Regions from separate parts of the Homo sapiens genome. Here all the other regions are linked to region 1. Evidence: promoter capture Hi-C in 16 types of primary human blood cells and fetal thymus (Javierre and others, 2016). All regions are on one chromosome and are shown on one strand. The core of a region is centred on a gene start or on the middle of the fragment in contact, and the rest is flanking DNA. Distances in the headings are between cores, read along the strand shown. Region 1 holds the start of ATF4 (activating transcription factor 4). Region 2 overlaps TNRC6B (trinucleotide repeat containing adaptor 6B). Region 3 overlaps ADSL (adenylosuccinate lyase).

Evidence for each region. The method cuts DNA at HindIII sites, captures the fragments that hold promoters and counts their contacts. A CHiCAGO score of 5 or more calls a contact.
Region 2: a contact is called between a fragment that was not itself captured here and the fragment with the promoter of ATF4 in region 1, in 1 of 17 cell types (fetal thymus). The highest score is 5.9, in fetal thymus.
Region 3: a contact is called between a fragment that was not itself captured here and the fragment with the promoter of ATF4 in region 1, in 1 of 17 cell types (naive CD4 T cells). The highest score is 5.8, in naive CD4 T cells.

Annotation. Positions count from the first base shown.
Region 1 is chr22:39,518,342-39,522,326 of GRCh38, forward strand. ATF4 (activating transcription factor 4) reads left to right here and starts at 2,221. Exons shown (of 3, transcript NM_182810.3): 1 at 2,221-2,410; 2 at 3,013-3,330; 3 at 3,432-3,985. The coding sequence starts at 3,105. RefSeq lists a silencer at 1,559-1,758 and enhancers at 2,139-2,288, 2,649-2,698. The HindIII fragment of the contact is 5,669 bases long and covers 767-3,985 here.
Region 2 is chr22:40,178,562-40,182,726 of GRCh38, forward strand. The region is part of intron 1 of TNRC6B (trinucleotide repeat containing adaptor 6B); the gene reads left to right. Among named protein-coding and RNA genes, the nearest start is that of TNRC6B, 2.7 kb to the left of the region's middle. The HindIII fragment of the contact is 973 bases long and covers 1,201-2,173 here.
Region 3 is chr22:40,359,187-40,362,842 of GRCh38, forward strand. It overlaps ADSL (adenylosuccinate lyase), which reads left to right. Exons shown (of 13, transcript NM_000026.4): 6 at 74-120; 7 at 1,216-1,306; 8 at 2,087-2,156; 9 at 2,302-2,449. Among named protein-coding and RNA genes, the nearest start is that of SGSM3, 9.6 kb to the right of the region's middle. The HindIII fragment of the contact is 1,683 bases long and covers 997-2,679 here.

The sequences.
Region 1 (3,985 bases), core at 971-3,470:
TCTGTCAGGAGGTACTGTCTATAGCAAAAGGAGAACACGTCCTGTGGGTCCCTAGTTCTGCCTTTGGAAGACATGGCTAATGGCTCAGGTATTCTTACTGCCTTTGCATGGAAAGGCTAGAAAACTCCTGTATTTTTTTTTTTTTTAAAGACAGGGTCTTGCTCTGTTGCCCAGGCTGAGTTGCAGTGTTGTGATCACAGCTCACTGCAGCTTGGAATTCCTGGGCTCAAGCAATCCTCCCACCTCGGCTTGAGTAGGTGGGGCTACAGGCTGGAGCCACTGCTCCTGGCGCCAACTTCTGTATATCTCAACACTCACGATTCCCCAAGGAGAAAGAAAAAACATACTTTTATTCCAGCATCCAGTATGCCTTGTGTATACCAGTTTTAAAGTTGTTGGTTTCATCTCATTAAATAATAATGAAGAGTCCTCTGAGGCAGCAGGAGGATGTGATGGAGAGTGGCAGAAGTCAGGGTCAGGAGACCTGAGTTCTATGAACAGTGGCAGCAACAGCAACCATTATTGGGCGCTTACATGTACCAGGCAGGCACTGTGCTAAGTGCTTTACATGTATGATCTCACTTCATGAGGCAAGGATACTCATCAGTAGTCTCATTTTACAAATGAGGAAACTGAGGCTCAGAGAGTATAAGTCATTTAGCCAAAATGTCCCAGCCAGGATTCTTTTGGATGCGCTCCCCAAAATCTGTCTTCTAACTCCTACCCCATACTCCCTCCACTGGGAGCCTTGTGACTTTGAGCAAGAAGCTTCATCCCATTGGGCCTCGGTTTACCATTGGAAAGGATTTGTGGGCGAGGTTGAATGAGCGCAGCAGATGGCCTGTGGTTATTTAGAGCAGTGCTTCCCTGGTTGTTTGATATCACAGCGCTCATACTTGTGTGGCCCAGTGAAATGGAGGCGGAAACTCAAAGTTTCCACCTTCACAGGGCCTGACTGGAAGGGGCTGAAGGATGATGGGGAGGTTTCTTGTATTCTTAAAACAGACTACCCCTTCCCAACGCACAACCCCCAGTAAGTGGCCGTGGGTTCCCAAGCGCCTCTCCTCCCTGGGCCATGGGCGTGACTGCTGAAAAGCGGGTTAGGCCGGGGAGTTCAGAATCCGGAGTGAATCCGAACTACCCCAGGGAGACGGCAGCGAAGAAAATCTTGTTCTTAGGAGAACGCAATCTTCGGACACCAGAAGTTCCTCTATGATGCTATTCTGTGGCAGCCTTGCACTTGAGCCGGATGAAAATTGTAAAAACCCAGGTTGGGCGACAGGACGGCGCGTCTTCCCGGCTCCTTTCCAGAGTTTAGGAGGAGCCATGCAGACTCAGCCGGCCTTTGGGGGTAGGTGGACAGGCCCGGCGCGCCCTCTCGAGGCCCCTTCAACCTCCCGGGGGCAGCAGCGCCGTGTCGGCTATGAATGGGGCCTCTGGAAAACTCAGGCTTGGAACAGGTAACCCCCCGGTTTCCGCAGGCCACAAATCACCACCCGCAACCGAAGGACGCGCAGGCTGGGAGCGGCGGCGGGGCCACCAGTGCGGACCTCCACTGAGGGCGGCGGGATCCGACCGCAAGGGCTGGTCCCTGAGGCCACTAAGGGGTGCGCTGGGCTAAGGCCGCCTGGGGGCAGGAGCCAGCGCGATCGTGGCGGGCCAGCAGGCGGGGCTGGCTGAGGACTAGCAGCGACCCGAGACCCCAACCCTTCCCACGCGGACCCCGGGATCCCTCTCCCAGCAGCCGCCCATCTAGGGCCCTGAGCCAATAAGAGCTCGAGATATATATGATTCACCGGGCCTGGGCCAATCACCTTGACGCGCGCTCTTCGCCAGCACCTCGCGCGATAACCTGGCGTCCTCGGCCTTCACAATAAAAACTCTTCGCCGGAAAACGACCTTTCCCCGCCCACTGCGCTGACACCGGAAGCGAGGCGTGTCTGGGAGATCACTCCGCGCTCCGGCGGCGAAGGAAAGAACGGACTCTGATCATAGAAGCCTAGTAAAGTAGTACACCTCTCTCCTTTCGTGAGGCCATAAGAACAAACTCCTTTTCTCGTCACAGCTACGCCCTGGGCATAAACGGTTGGGGCGTCAAAGGGAGGGAGGGAAGGGAGCGGGCGGGAGGAGACGGTCACGTGGTCGCGGCGGAAGGATGCGTCTGTGCTGCGTCCCCATAGAGACGAAGTCTATAAAGGGCCGGCGGGCGGCCACGGCAGCCATTTCTACTTTGCCCGCCCACAGATGTAGTTTTCTCTGCGCGTGTGCGTTTTCCCTCCTCCCCGCCCTCAGGGTCCACGGCCACCATGGCGTATTAGGGGCAGCAGTGCCTGCGGCAGCATTGGCCTTTGCAGCGGCGGCAGCAGCACCAGGCTCTGCAGCGGCAACCCCCAGCGGCTTAAGCCATGGCGTGAGTACCGGGGCGGGTCGTCCAGCTGTGCTCCTGGGGCCGGCGCGGGTTTTGGATTGGTGGGGTGCGGCCTGGGGCCAGGGCGGTGCCGCCAAGGGGGAAGCGATTTAACGAGCGCCCGGGACGCGTGGTCTTTGCTTGGGTGTCCCCGAGACGCTCGCGTGCCTGGGATCGGGAAAGCGTAGTCGGGTGCCCGGACTGCTTCCCCAGGAGCCCTACAGCCCTCGGACCCCGAGCCCCGCAAGGGTCCCAGGGGTCTTGGCTGTTGCCCCACGAAACGTGGCAGGAACCAAGATGGCGGCGGCAGGGCGGCGGCGCGGGCGTGAGTCAAGGGCGGGCGGTGGGCGGGGCGCGGCCGCCCTGGCCGTATTTGGACGTGGGGACGGAGCGCTTTCCTCTTGGCGGCCGGTGGAAGAATCCCCTGGTCTCCGTGAGCGTCCATTTTGTGGAACCTGAGTTGCAAGCAGGGAGGGGCAAATACAACTGCCCTGTTCCCGATTCTCTAGATGGCCGATCTAGAGAAGTCCCGCCTCATAAGTGGAAGGATGAAATTCTCAGAACAGCTAACCTCTAATGGGAGTTGGCTTCTGATTCTCATTCAGGCTTCTCACGGCATTCAGCAGCAGCGTTGCTGTAACCGACAAAGACACCTTCGAATTAAGCACATTCCTCGATTCCAGCAAAGCACCGCAACATGACCGAAATGAGCTTCCTGAGCAGCGAGGTGTTGGTGGGGGACTTGATGTCCCCCTTCGACCAGTCGGGTTTGGGGGCTGAAGAAAGCCTAGGTCTCTTAGATGATTACCTGGAGGTGGCCAAGCACTTCAAACCTCATGGGTTCTCCAGCGACAAGGCTAAGGCGGGCTCCTCCGAATGGCTGGCTGTGGATGGGTTGGTCAGTCCCTCCAACAACAGCAAGGGTGAGTGGGCCACCACCACATCGTCCTGGTGGGATCTAGGGTTAGGGGCCTCCTACCTTTGTATCTGACTCACTTGGCCCCATCACTCAAATGTTTTGCAGAGGATGCCTTCTCCGGGACAGATTGGATGTTGGAGAAAATGGATTTGAAGGAGTTCGACTTGGATGCCCTGTTGGGTATAGATGACCTGGAAACCATGCCAGATGACCTTCTGACCACGTTGGATGACACTTGTGATCTCTTTGCCCCCCTAGTCCAGGAGACTAATAAGCAGCCCCCCCAGACGGTGAACCCAATTGGCCATCTCCCAGAAAGTTTAACAAAACCCGACCAGGTTGCCCCCTTCACCTTCTTACAACCTCTTCCCCTTTCCCCAGGGGTCCTGTCCTCCACTCCAGATCATTCCTTTAGTTTAGAGCTGGGCAGTGAAGTGGATATCACTGAAGGAGATAGGAAGCCAGACTACACTGCTTACGTTGCCATGATCCCTCAGTGCATAAAGGAGGAAGACACCCCTTCAGATAATGATAGTGGCATCTGTATGAGCCCAGAGTCCTATCTGGGGTCTCCTCAGCACAGCCCCTCTACCAGGGGCTCTCCAAATAGGAGCCTCCCATCTCCAGGTGTTCTCTGTGGGTCTGCCCGTCCCAAACCT
Region 2 (4,165 bases), core at 437-2,936, 660 kb after region 1:
GGAGGGCAAGCCCTAGAACGGGAAAGCCTTTTTCTATCTTTTTATTTTTTAAACTGGGCCCTCCTTCCTAGAGAGATGTAAAACCTAAAGTAAGACCTAATACATTTTAAACATCAGGTTGGGGGCGGGTGAACACCAGGAGGTTTGGGGTTTGTAGATTCCCCTGCTTGAAAACCTCCCAAGCAATATGTGGCTCACCCCTCTCCTTTCTGCGCGCGCTCATTTGCACTGGGTCTCTGTGTGTGTTCTCAAATGTGCAGCCAGATGCGCTTTTATTTTGATCCTGGATTCAACCAAAGGGTAGGACTATGTTGTAAACATGGTGTTTTAAAGATATGAACAGCTATTCACCGCGATTAGAAATTATTTCTTTATCAGTTCTCCCTGTGTATTAGCCTTCTTCATTCCTCACGAAATAAAATTTTTGTTTAATTTTACACAGATGCAAAACTGAGTTTTTCAGCATAAATTCATCGTGTGAGTGTGTGGTTGCCTGTTTCGGCCATGTATCCACTGCGAAGTGGTCATTTAGGGTCACATGTATAAGTAGCAGTCTATGTGATTGTTAGTAACCCCTGAAGCTGTGCAGTGCCTGAAGTTAAATTCCATTACTCCTAATGCAGGATTCTGGAAGCCTGAGAGCAGGGAGGAAAGAAAGCTGAAAACTTGCTTTCTCAGAGCCTCCTCCCCCTATCATTGTGAGAGTGTGATGTAATGCTTCTCGGTCTGGTGGGCTGAAAGGATTGTAGTTTGTGATGTGGCGGGTAAATTGCCCCCACCCCTGGGTAAATTACTCCACCCCCCTGAGCACATCCCTGGCTCTGAGAGGCCTTGTTTTCTTTTCTCTTTTTTTCCTAATTTGTATCCTCCTGATTTATGCTGTGGCATATTGGCATGAGAAAGAGACTGTTCTTCTAAATCTGTTACAAAGTATAGTTTAGAAAAGGCATTTAAAATATGCAAATGGGTTGAATTGTCATATCCCCATCATTAAATATGTAGACGTGGATTAAAGCTAATTAAGCATAAATGGAATAATTTTGATCAGAAGGGAGCAGTGTTTTTTGTTGTTTCCTTTTTAATTAATCTAATTATGAGATGCTTACTGGGCCTGAAAGTGTTAAAAAAGATAAAGTGGAAAAAATGCTGGACCATTTTGAAAATTTGACAGTCTGGAAGAGGGTGTGTGGTGCTTTCAAAAGCTTTATTCACTCTTAAAATGGATTGGCCTCTTGTGCTGAAAATGGCCTGTTTCTTTGGGCCAATTGTGTGTAGATGAAGGGACTTTCACGCTAATTTAACAAAAAGACTTTCCATTTGAATACATAAGATAATTAAAGCCCTCTGTCTCTAACAAGCAAGGATTTTATTATTTTAAAAAATTAATGTTGTTATGTTAGTAATGGTAATAAATACAGAAGTGACTGTTTAGATTCACTGTAAATTTTTTGATGATATAAATTCAGCTTTTGTGTAAGAAGGATTGGAAACATTACATTAAAGAGGTAGTCTGGAACAAAGTTGTCTCTAAATTTTTTTACGGCTTGAATTTAAAGGGAAAAGATAGAGAAATTACCTTAGTGATAGAGAATGTTGCATTGTGGTAGACCTAAAGGAAAATCAGCTCTGATTTTTGTTGCTGTTTTTCTGAAAATGAAAGCACTTTTTTGGGGCTTTGCTTGTTATATGATTCATTTTACACCTATTTCCTAAAGTTGGTCTTACTGAAGAGGAGATAAAACCTAGGCTTTCCATGTTTTGCCATTATCTTGTTTTTGTGGCTGTGTAAACATATGAATGGCAGGTTAATTCAGTTTGCAGAGAGGAGGAACCAGAGCAGGGTACCTGCTGTCTTAGGCAGAACAGAGAATGATACAATGAATGCCATTTGATTCTTTGAAATGTTTTTTATAAATATTCTTTTCCCCTGGATAATTAAAAGGTGAGATAAATAAGACCTGGCTTCACGTATGGGAAGCATTATGGCTCTGGTGAGTTGATAGCTCGACTGCCATTTTGGATCTCAGATCCTGCAGAGCCAATCCTTCTGGCTCACCAACACGATGGTCATCCAGAAGGAAATGAAAATGAGTAATCAATTAAGTGTGCAGATGGATAGTATTTAATTTGTGCCTTCTGTTGAAGTTTTCTTTCTGTGAGTACTGTGAATTGAAGCTTTAAAAACTTTAAAGATGTGGCCGATGTTATGAAGAGCAATATCCAGGGGTGCTGGAACTTGCACGTTGTAGTTTTACTTTTTAAAAATGAGATGGCATATGCAGAGGAAGTTTCTTATTGGAGAAAGTGAATATAATCCCTATTAACTGCCACCCCCCCCACCAATCTATATTTCCTAATGCTGGATCAACTAGTGATAATATCACAACATTACTCTGTCTCAGAAAAAAATGTCACAGGTTCATGACTGAAAGATCACAAAAATTGGTAGCGTTCATCAGAAGTGGTATCTCAATTTTAAAGTGCTTTTCAGTCATTCCATCTGGTTCCCAGAAAGGAAGCTTTGGCATCTTTGATATATGGTGCAAACTCAGCTCTGTTCTTCAGCTGTGAATGGCCATTTGTTATTCTGTGTGGCCACTCGGATGGTCCTTTAAAAATAAACTTCCGAACATTGAAGCAGAGACTTCTAAGGCTTCTCCAGCTCTTCAGCTCTACAAGAGACACTAGAAGAGTGTTATGCGATGATGAGACCTTCAGGTTCTGCAGAGCAGGCTGAGCAGCTCTGGCTATTGAGGACCACCCTGAGGAATAAGGGTGGTCCTCACCCTACCCAGCTGCTCCTCACCCTACCCAGCTGCTCCATGACTGAAAAGTTTGGAAAGATTTTAATTTTTATAACTCAGATCATATAATCATTGATCATCTGCAGTTTAAGCTGGACACAGCCCTGAGGCAATGCAGATAGATGAATGTACTTTGTCCCTTTCCTCAAGGAGTACCAGGTCAGCATTATTGGTAAACAGATCGTCACAACTTGGCAGTTTATGTGCAATATTCAGAGCAAGTTCCTGGTTACAGAAGTATCTGAGTATCTGCATTAGGAGGGTCCTTGTTTTAAAATTTCTTAAAGAAGCCAAATAGGCCAGTCGTGGTGGCTCACGCCTGTGATCACTTTGGGAGTCCCAGGCAGGCTGATTGCTTGAGCTCAGGAGTTTGAGACCAGCCTGGGCAACATGGCAAAACCCTGTCCCTACAAGAAATTTTAAACAAAATTAGCTGGGCATGGTGGCTCACGCCTGTCATCTCAACTACTCAGGAGGCTGAGAGGTGAAAGGATAGTTTGAGCCAGTGATGTTGACACTGCAGTTAGCCAAGATCGTGCCACTGCATTCCAGCCTAGGAAACAGCTAGACCCTGTCTCGAGAGAAAAAAAAAAAAGCCAGCCGGGCGTGGTGGCTCACGCCTGTAATCCCAGCACTTTGGGAGGTCGAGGTGAGTGGATACGAGGTCAGGAGTTCGAGACCAGCCTGGACAATATGGTGAACCCTTGTCTCTACTAAAAATACAAAAAAACTAGCCAAGGGTGGTGGCGCCTGCCTGTAATCCCAGCTACTCGGGAGGCTGAGGCAGGAGAATCGTTTGAACCCAGGAGTCGGAGGTTGCAGTGAGCCGAGATTGTGCCACTGCACTCCATCCTGGGCAGTACAGGGAGACTCCGTCTCAAAAAAAAAAGAAAAGAAAAGAAAAAAAAGCCAAATAATTACCCCATTTAATAATTTTTAGTTATTTAGATATTAGACTTCTTTAAGTGGAACTTGTTTCTGTCTGGTGGCTGGGGAGAGGGACAGCATATGCTAATTGTTTCTCTGTACAGTATTGTTCGTGGATTTACTCTAATCCCACTTTCCTCACCTGCTTGTGATTAAGACGGGTGTCAGGGGTAGGGTGGAGTGAATTGAAGCCACTTGGCCAGAAAAGGGATTTATTTAACTCATGGCAGTGACATCTTAACATTGTTTTCTTCTTTCCGTCATATATTTGTTCAGCAGTAATTTATTAAGCACTGATGTAGGTGCTGGGGCATCTAAGAATTAATTTGGTTGGCCCATTGCCTTCAATAGTTTGGTTCATGTGGAAATACTTGCCATCTGGTGACTAACTATATAACTTACTGCTTTAGGTTATGACTGAGATAACTCCTTAG
Region 3 (3,656 bases), core at 588-3,087, 840 kb after region 1:
GTAGGATGACAGGTTGAGGCATTCTCACACTGGACACATGGATTATTATAAGGATGTGTCTTTTCTTTCCAAGGTAGAGCAGCTTGACAAGATGGTGACAGAAAAGGCAGGATTTAAGAGGTAGGTAAATGGGAATGTGTTGGCCTCCCTGTTAAGTTGATGGAAGTCCTATATTCAGTATACCTGCAGATTTGACCTTACAATTTTTGCCTTTTTCTTCCTTTGTTCTTCTACCCATTTTTTTTTTTCCTGTCTCTATCCTGGGTTTTACTTTCTTACTATCTGGATTCTTTTTTTTTTTTTTTTTTTTTCGCCTAATCGTCTTGCTGACATATTTTCTGGATTTCATTTTATTTTATTATTGTTTTTGAGACAGGGTCTTACTCTGTCACCCAGGCTGGAGTGCAGCGGTGTGATCTCGGCTCACGGCAGCCTCCGCCTCCCAGTTTCAAGCAGTCCTTCCACCTAAGCCCCCTGTGACTACAGGCATGCCTGGCTAATTTTTGTATTGTTTTTGTATAATTTTTGTATTGTTTTGTAGAGACCATGTTGCCCAGGCTGGTCTCCAACTCCTGAGATCAAGCGATCCACCTGCCTCAGCCTCAAAGTGCTAGGATTATAGGCATGAGCCACCATGCCTGACCTGCATTCTCTTTTTGTATAATCTATAGGAAAAAAGAAAATGATTTACTTCTGGTTTCTTTAGAATACCTTTATCCATGTTGTTACCATTTTTGTTTCTTTACTTAGGGCCCCCAACAGGTTAGGCTAAATCTGACCATTTCCATTGAGGTCCACCAGGTTCCACCATGGCTCCTTCTCCCAGGCATTTCTATTGGGCTGTGGCCAGACATGGGCACGTTGCACCATGTATCCTTCTTGAGTCAGGCCATTGTCCTGAGTATTAGTGAAAAGGGTGGAAGAATAGTTTATTCCAGGAGCAAGTTACCACTCAGGTCCACTGGTTGAGTATAACTTAGCATACCAATAAGACCAAGCTTTTCTTTAGGATGTGTTTTTCCTTGTTTGACAGAGTCATGTTTTGAATTATTATTATTTTATAAGAGTCTCCCAGTGATGCTTAGGCTGGCCTTAACCTCCTGAGTTAAAGCAGTCCTCCTCCGTTAGCCTCCTAAGTAGCTGGGACTACAGTCATGCACCACTGCAATGGCTTTAAAATATTTTAACCTAAGTCTCTCTTGTACTTATTCCTAGAGCTTTCATCATCACAGGGCAGACATATACACGAAAAGTGGATATTGAAGTACTGTCTGTGCTGGCTAGCTTGGGGGCATCAGTGCACAAGGTGAGTGGTGGCAGCATGTGGGGTGGGGACAGGAGCTTTGGGCACCACAGACAGACTGAATTAACCTCAGACTTTTACTTAACCATCTCTCTCAAGCAATATTTTACATTAGTTTTAATAATTTGTGGTCTGTAAATGAAACCCTTAAGGGGAAGACTCGTTTTGGCATTTTCTTTAAAGTTATCTCAAGCACTGCAAAACATCCATCTTGTTCAGTGGTATATTAAATTAATCTTTTTTTTTTTTCGAGATGGAGTTTCGCTCTTGTTGCCCAGGCTGGAGTGCAATGGTATGATCTCGGCTCACTGCAACCTCCACCTCCTGGGTTCGAGCGAGCCTCCCAAGTAGCTGGGATTACAGGCATGCACCACAATGTCTGGCTAATTTTAGTAGAGGCAGGGTTTCACCATGTTGGCCAGGCTGGTCTCGAACTCCTGACCTCAGGTGATCCACCCACCTCAGCCTCCCAAAATGCTGGGATTACAGGTGTGAGCCACCGCGCCCATCCTGAATTAATCTTGTGATTTTCTTTCCATGATGCCTTAAGCAGTGTTTCACAAAAGCGTTTTCATGCTCCTTGAATTTGTCATCCCAGTCCTTCGGGAACAGAGAGGAGTCGGAGTAAGATACTCTGCAGGAGCTCTTTGGGAGGATGCGCTGGTCTTCAGCTCAGCCACAGCACACCTAAGAGCTCATCTCCTTCATCAGCCTAGTCACAGCTCCCAGACTCTACTGCACACTGACAGTGTGGGGTGATGCTTATTCCCCTACCTCCCCCAGATTTGCACCGACATACGCCTCCTGGCAAACCTCAAGGAGATGGAGGAACCCTTTGAAAAACAGCAGATTGGTGAGTGCTGTGTAGAGACCTGTGAGCACACATTGCTGCTGGAAGGCTGTGGATGGGGGCTGAGAGCTCATTCAGCATGCTTGCCTACTCACTATCCTCTGAAGTCTCTCTGCCTTTGCATCTTGTCCTTTTTTTACATGGGCAGGCTCAAGTGCGATGCCATATAAGCGGAATCCCATGCGTTCAGAACGTTGCTGCAGTCTTGCCCGCCACCTGATGACCCTTGTCATGGACCCGCTACAGACAGCATCTGTCCAGTGGTTTGAACGCACACTGGATGATAGTGCCAACCGGTCAGTGGCACAGGGACATCACATACACCAAGTTGAGTGGAGGTCTGAAGGAGGGACCTAGAAGTAAAAGGACATATTTGAGCATCTCTACAGTCTCCTTATCCCCAAGGATCCCAGAGTCTAGCAGGGAGGCAAAAACATAAAAAGGACAGTGTGATAAGTGTTACAATTGGAGTGTGTACTGGGTACTGTGGAGCAAAGAGGAAGGAATAGTGTTTGAGGAGTCAGAAAGCTTCACAGTAGAGGTGATGCCTTAAGACTTAAGAAATACATGCATCTTTTAAAGACAAGATCGGGAGCATTATAAAGGCACAAAGCAGGAGAAAACACACTTGAGGGAGTTACTACTACTTGAGTAGCCCTGGGGAATGAAGTCAACATGTGCCAGGAGGTGGGGCAGGACATGGTCACAGATAGCCAGTTTATGAAAGGTCTTCTGGGTCTTTTCTGAAGGCAGATAGATGTCAGTTGTGGTGTCTAGGCACAATGACATCTTGATTAGTTATGAGATGAGTCAGAAATAATTTGTAACTACTGTTGAGGTGCCAACATGCGCATCATTTTCTGTTTTATGTATATACTCACTTAAAGCAGATTGGCATTACTCTCGCCTGCTCGCATTTTGCTGGAATTTCTTGAGTGGATACGGATGTATAGTTAAACCTAGCTTTCTGGGATCTGTGCATAATCCACGATTTATCTCTGGAAATAAGTCATGTGAACTCATTCAGAAGTCAGCCATTGAATACTTTTTAGCAAGGTGTGACCCTGTAGGTCTGCTGATTTGCCTGCTAAAAGACCCTAGCAACAGTTTGGAGAGTTGGCTGTAAGGAGACAGGGATCATGTCAGAACAAGTTAGGGGCTACTTTAAAAGTCTGAGGCCACATTGGTGCAGTGGCCATGTAAATGGAGAGGAAGGATATAGATCCAGAGTCGAAGGCAGACTGGCCAGCCCAGCCCTGGTGGTTGACCGGAGTGAGTATAAAGAGCTTGGTGAGTGGGGCGCTACTGCCATTTACTGAGGCAGGAGCTACAAGGGAGGAATGGCAGGTATGTAATGGTGAGTAGGAGGAATGAGAAAGTGGCTGAGTTCAGTTTGGGGATTGAGGTACCCATAGATCAACCAGGTGGACGTCTCACTCAGTAGGTATGAGGTCTGGCACTTGAGCAAGTGGTCTGGCCTAGAGGTGACAGATTTGAGGGTCG